Linked DNA regions of Homo sapiens: region 1 is linked to region 2. The links are contacts of gene promoters, found by promoter capture Hi-C in blood cells and fetal thymus (Javierre and others, 2016). All regions are on one chromosome and are shown on one strand. The core of a region is centred on a gene start or on the middle of the fragment in contact, and the rest is flanking DNA. Distances in the headings are between cores, read along the strand shown. Region 1 has its middle 8.1 kb from the start of ALDH8A1. Region 2 holds the start of TBPL1 (TATA-box binding protein like 1).

Evidence for each region. Contacts are between HindIII fragments. The CHiCAGO score rates a contact against its expected background, and 5 or more counts as called.
Region 1: a fragment that was not itself captured here is called in contact with the fragment with the promoter of TBPL1 in region 2 in 1 of 17 cell types (M0 macrophages); the score reaches 5.6 in M0 macrophages.

The regions. Positions count from the first base shown.
Region 1 is chr6:134,956,875-134,959,574 of GRCh38, reverse strand. No RefSeq gene overlaps it. Among named protein-coding and RNA genes, the nearest start is that of ALDH8A1, 8.1 kb to the right of the region's middle. RefSeq lists a silencer at 2,158-2,358. The HindIII fragment of the contact is 417 bases long and covers 1,215-1,631 here.
Region 2 is chr6:133,951,849-133,954,548 of GRCh38, reverse strand. TBPL1 (TATA-box binding protein like 1) reads right to left here and starts at 1,325. Exons shown (of 7, transcript NM_004865.4): 1 at 1,124-1,325. It overlaps LOC128092253 (umcharacterized LOC128092253), which reads right to left and starts at 1,245. Exons shown (of 2, transcript NM_001414965.1): 1 at 1,124-1,245. The coding sequence starts at 1,245. RefSeq lists a silencer at 2,218-2,327. The HindIII fragment of the contact is 10,274 bases long and covers 1-2,700 here.

The DNA of each region.
Region 1 (2,700 bases), core at 174-2,673, 1.0 Mb before region 2:
TTCATAAGAGGGCTTAGTTATCCATGGAATCTTGAGAAAGGTTCACAGCAACAAATGCTACTCATTCAAAGCCTTGTCTCTCAGTCTGTTCGAGCTGCTATAGCAAAATACCCTAAACTGGGTAATTTATAATAACAGCCATTTATGTCTTAACGTTCTAGAGGCTGGGAAGTCCAAGATCAAGACACCAACACATGTGGTGTCTGGTGAAGGCTGTCTGCCTCAAACATGACATCTCTTGCTGTGTCCTCACATGGCAGAAGGGACAAACACCGTGTTCACATGAGGCAGAAGAGCTGAAGGCAGAAACTTGCTCCCTCAAGTGCTTTTATAAGGACACTAATCTCATGCAGGAGGATGGAGCCCTCATGGCCCAATTTTGTAATTAAAAGGTCTCAACTCTTAATACTGTTATATTGGGAATTAAATTTCATCATGAATTTTGCAAGGACATAAATATTCAAATGATTGCACTCTGTCCAGAAAGGAAAGACTCCCTGGCTCCCTTGGCCAGGCCAGGCCCAATCAGAGGATAAATACATAACTCTGAGATAGATTCAAATACTGTTGAATTTTGATTGTCTAATGTCTCTTCTGGTTCCTTGTTGGTCCTTTAACTTTTACTGAGCTGCATAAGTTCTGCTGAAGGTAAGAATAAATGTGCTGAAGTTTGATTATTTGGCAATTCAAGTAGTTTAATTAGAGGAAGGGAATGTGCCAGGAATGAGGACACAAGAATCTGTGGGTTTTCTGATATACTTCTCATAGTACATAAATAAATTGGAATTTGAATGTTAAATATCAACCTCTTGAGTTTAGTTAAATGAGTCTATTCTCAGTATATTGACAAATTCAGATCCCAAAGCCTATAAGCCAGATATCGAACCATGGTAATTTCAGCAAAATACTGTTGATGCCCCAGAGAGCCTCCTGCGTGACAGCATACTGACATTTTCATCTGAGGAGTTTTACCTGTGGCTAGGCTTATTTCCTTAAACACCTTCTAAAATGTTCATTTACAAAAATTGAGTATTCTTAGTGATGAAGAAAACCCCAGGTTATCAAAAGCATAATACTCAAAAGTTCTATATATTAAAATGAGTTTTTAGAAATACCTTAGTCATAGGACATATAAAAGACACTCTTCTAAATAACCTAATGAAGAAAATTTAAGATTATTTTCAAAAATGAAAATGAGACTACTTATTAAAGCTTCAGATAGCTTTATACTCATGATGGTTTTCTCTTTGTTTTGGCTGCCAGGAAGCTGACAGCCAAATTTGAGGCCCCAAACTGTACAGGATCTTAGGCATTTTGTAAACTACCCGTATCCCTGGCTTTATCTTGTTTGCAAGCACTTATTTTTCATTCTTCCTAATATTTTCTCCCCCACAACCTATTATAATGTATGTATTTTTATTTCTGTAAGTCATCTGAAATCATTTGTGGAATACAAAGTAATAGAAATAAATCAGCAAAGTAAAGATTTTTTAAAATGTGTGTAATACATATACCTATGTATTACATGTGTATACAACAAATATATTTTACATATATGCATGTGTATATGTGTATATATTTGTATGTAATGGAAAGAAATCAGTATATCCTTAAATTTTTTACTATAAGCTTATGGAAAAACTAACTAAATAAACATTTAACTAAAAAACCTAGAAAAGAAACAGAATGACTGTCCTTAGGAAATATACCCATGAGTCCATACCAATATGAATAAATGATTGAATAAATAAAGGGAGGTTGAATAAATAAGATAGGGGAAATGAAGAGACAAATCTCCCTTTTAAAAGCATTTCAAATAATTTATGTAGATACTTTGTCTTCACGGAGGTAGAACGTAACACTCCACCCCTCATGTGTGGGGCTGAGCATAGTGACTTCCTTCCAAAGAGTACGGTATGGAAAAGCAGTGAAAAGAATTTTATAATGGAAAAACCTGACAAGTACTACTTCAGCCAAGTGATCAAGGTTAACATCGAGTGACGTCATGTTGATTATACATACTGATATATATCTATGTATAATAATGTGGTGAAGATGGCACTTTTTGATCTTCCTCCTAAAAACTCACAACACCACTCTAATCATGAGAAAAATATCAGGCAAATTTTAATAGAGGAGCATCCTACAAAATTCTTGACCAATACTCATTAAAACTGTGAAGGTCATCAAACATAAGAAAAATCTGAGAAACTCATTGCCATGAGGACCTAAGGAGACATAAGGAAATGTAATGTGTCATGAGTGGGATCCTGTACCAAAGACATTAAGTAAAAGCTAAGGAAACATCAATAAATTACGGAGTTTAGTTAAGAATGTATCACTACTGGCTCCTTAACTGTGGCAAATGTACTATTCTAGTATAAGATGTTCATATTGGGGGGAAACTGGCTGCAGTATTTCTATAAATATAAAACTGTTCTAAATGATAAAGTCTTTAAATTTTTGTTATATAGTATTTAATACAAGCAAAAGAACATTTGTAATTAATATGTAGATTAAAAACAAGAAAACCCCATAAACTGTTCCCTCTACTAATGATTAAAACATTAGCAATAAGTGCCATTGAAGCTATCCTAATCTATCATAGCCTTTTCCCAGCCCTGACTGGGGATTTTAACATTTCCCTTCTTTAAAAAAAAATTTTTGTAAATTGTTTATGTGGTATGAGTAATATGTTCA
Region 2 (2,700 bases), core at 76-2,575:
CAGCTTGTGATGTAAGACTAAAGAGGTAACATAAACTGATATTTCACTGGGCATACCAAACTGTGAATAATCCTTTCAACCAGATAGTGCTAACAGTCACTTCTCAATAGGAAGGAACTGCCATTTTCTCAAAGAGACTGCGAAATTATGCCAGGATGGCTGAACCTTCTTATGTCTCTTTTTATATTTTCCCAGAGAATCCACATTGCTTACACACACACACGCAAACCTGCTCCCTTTTCTTAAGTCACAGTTTTAAGGCACTGTTCTAAACCCTAAATACAGAAGCTCATGCACTTACTGCCAGTGTCGCTTTGGAACTGCAGGTGACAGATGCAGTCAGAGAGCTCACAGATGTGGATTGACTGCAGTTTGAGTCTTATTGCAATGAGCACATTGACAGAGCCTGCAGATGCACATCTCGGCAGGAGAGATTTTCTTTTTAAGCCCTCATGCCCTATTAGATTTACTTTTAGGGCTTTTATTGGCTATTTTTATCACTTATCCCGACTCTCATCCCTGCTTAGCCCTACCCACAATTCATTTTCTCTTCTTCAGTTCTAGATCCTTCTCCATCAATCCTAATTTTGGTCAAAAATAATAATAAAATAAAGCGAGGCTGCCGGCATTGCCAGAATCAGAAACCGACGAAGCCGCTTTTTGGGAGCTATTAGAGAAGCCGCTGTAAGTTTTCTGAGAAGCAACGGACCCCTAGCATCTTTGCACGGTCCCTCTTCCCCTGGGTGATGGCTCCGAGACAGATGAGGAATCTCTTTTCCCCGTCTTTCCCAGTGGTGGCTTAAACGAAAGATAACCCTTCTTTTCTTATCCTACACCAGGCTCGGTAACGCTCCCAGGTACGGACGCCCCACCCCCAACCCGTTATCCCTAAAGAGATCCCCAAATATCGCCCGGTCCTCTTCAGAACTGAGCCCTCCCTCGGCCACCGGACCGGTTTCCCCCACCTCAGCGGCTGCCCTCCAGTCGCCCGCCCCCACACATCCCACCCCAAGTCTGGCCCGGGCTCCGCACATGCCCACCCCGCGCCCAGACGCCCCGCACCCGGTGCTCAGGCCGCTCAGCCGCCCGCGCTCCCTGTGCCCAGGGTCGCCTAGGGGGTTACCGTGGGAAGAGGGAGCGGTGGCTGAGGACGCGGCGGCAGCGCTGCTGCCGGTTGCGTCGGATGCGAAGGAGAAGCTGGAGGACAAGGATGAGGATGAGACGGGCGCGCTCCCCAGTCTCCATGGAACTCCCGCCCCGGCCCGTTGCTAGGAGCCCCCGAGGCTCGGACTCCGTCTTCCTTGCTTTGTTGTTCCGGGTGCGAGGCGGCCGCAGCTTCCCCGCGACAATAAATAGACTAGACGCTGGGGAGCATAGAGACAGTGCGCGAGGGCTAGAGCGCCGCCGGACAGGGCGCTCCTGGGTGCCTCGCTAGCCACTCATTTCCGGCTCTCACTGCTCCCGTCACTTTCCCCGTCCCCCGCCCCCACCCTTCCTTCCTCCTTCCTGGTCCCCAAATCAGGCCCCTCCTGCCCACCCGCTGGGCTCGGTGGGAGGTAAGAGGTGGGATGGGGGCGGCGCTAATGGGCATCGGACTAGACTTTTTTGTTTAAGAACCGCTTGAAAGGGTTCTGAAAACACCGTGTATCCTTTGTATATTTTTAGTTGATATCTAAACGTGTAGTAATTTCTGGCATACAGTCGAATATTTAGGTGGACTTTTTTGTCAAAACCGTAGAACTTTCTCATCAGCTCATTAAATTTATACAAAAGGTCCTCCCCACCCCCCATTATATAATTGCTAAAGCTAGTCCTTACCGTCCAGACGAGACTTGTTTTCTGCCTGAAAAAAGTCCTTCGCTTTTTCAGTCAAAATGAACCCGTTAATTTATGATGTCGCGATAAATTCCCCTAGTGAGATTCCTCACTAGGCGAATTGGAATCCTGGTCTTAGAGCGACCGGGGATGACAGATGACAGACGGAGGGAAGGAAGTGGGGAGAGATGGAGACACAAGGTGTGGCGAGACGGAGGGATAACGCAGGACCGTATGCCACTTCTGTCGCCTGTCCCACATTCCTTACTCTACGTGGGTTTGCGGTCGGGACTGTCCCTCGGGAACCGAGAGGCGGATCCAGGAAGGATGGGAGTGGGAGAGGGCGGATGCTGGCGAGGACTCAGGCAGCCCGGGATAGGAGGACCTCTAGGAACGGAGACCCTCCGCGGCTCTGCGCCCAAGTAGCCCTGCAGGGGCCGGGGGACCCCGGGGGCGCACAATGGCCCGTTTGAACCGTCGCCCTGGGGCCCGAGTGCGTCCTCGGGGTCCCTCGGGAGTGGCCTGAGAGGCGCTGCCCGCGGGAGCGAAAATCGCGTAACGGCCCTGAGGGCGCCACGCCACGCCACGCCACGCCACGCCGCGCGGAAGCCCCCGGCTCCCGGCCCCACGTTTCCCACTCTCAGGCCGGCATCGGCCTTTCCACCAGAGCTCGGCTGCAGTCAGAAGCCCCTGGCGTTAGTTGAGGTCAATGGCAGCCCTGATTTAATTATTAAAAGACCACGCCGAGCCGGGTTCATGGGTACCTGGCCTCTGATTGGTGGGAATCAGATGAAAAAAATGAAAATGCCACTGCCTTTTTAAAAGAGAAGACGTGGGCTGAATTCTTGGGGTTTTGACAGTAGGCAACCATTTAGGTATTTTATT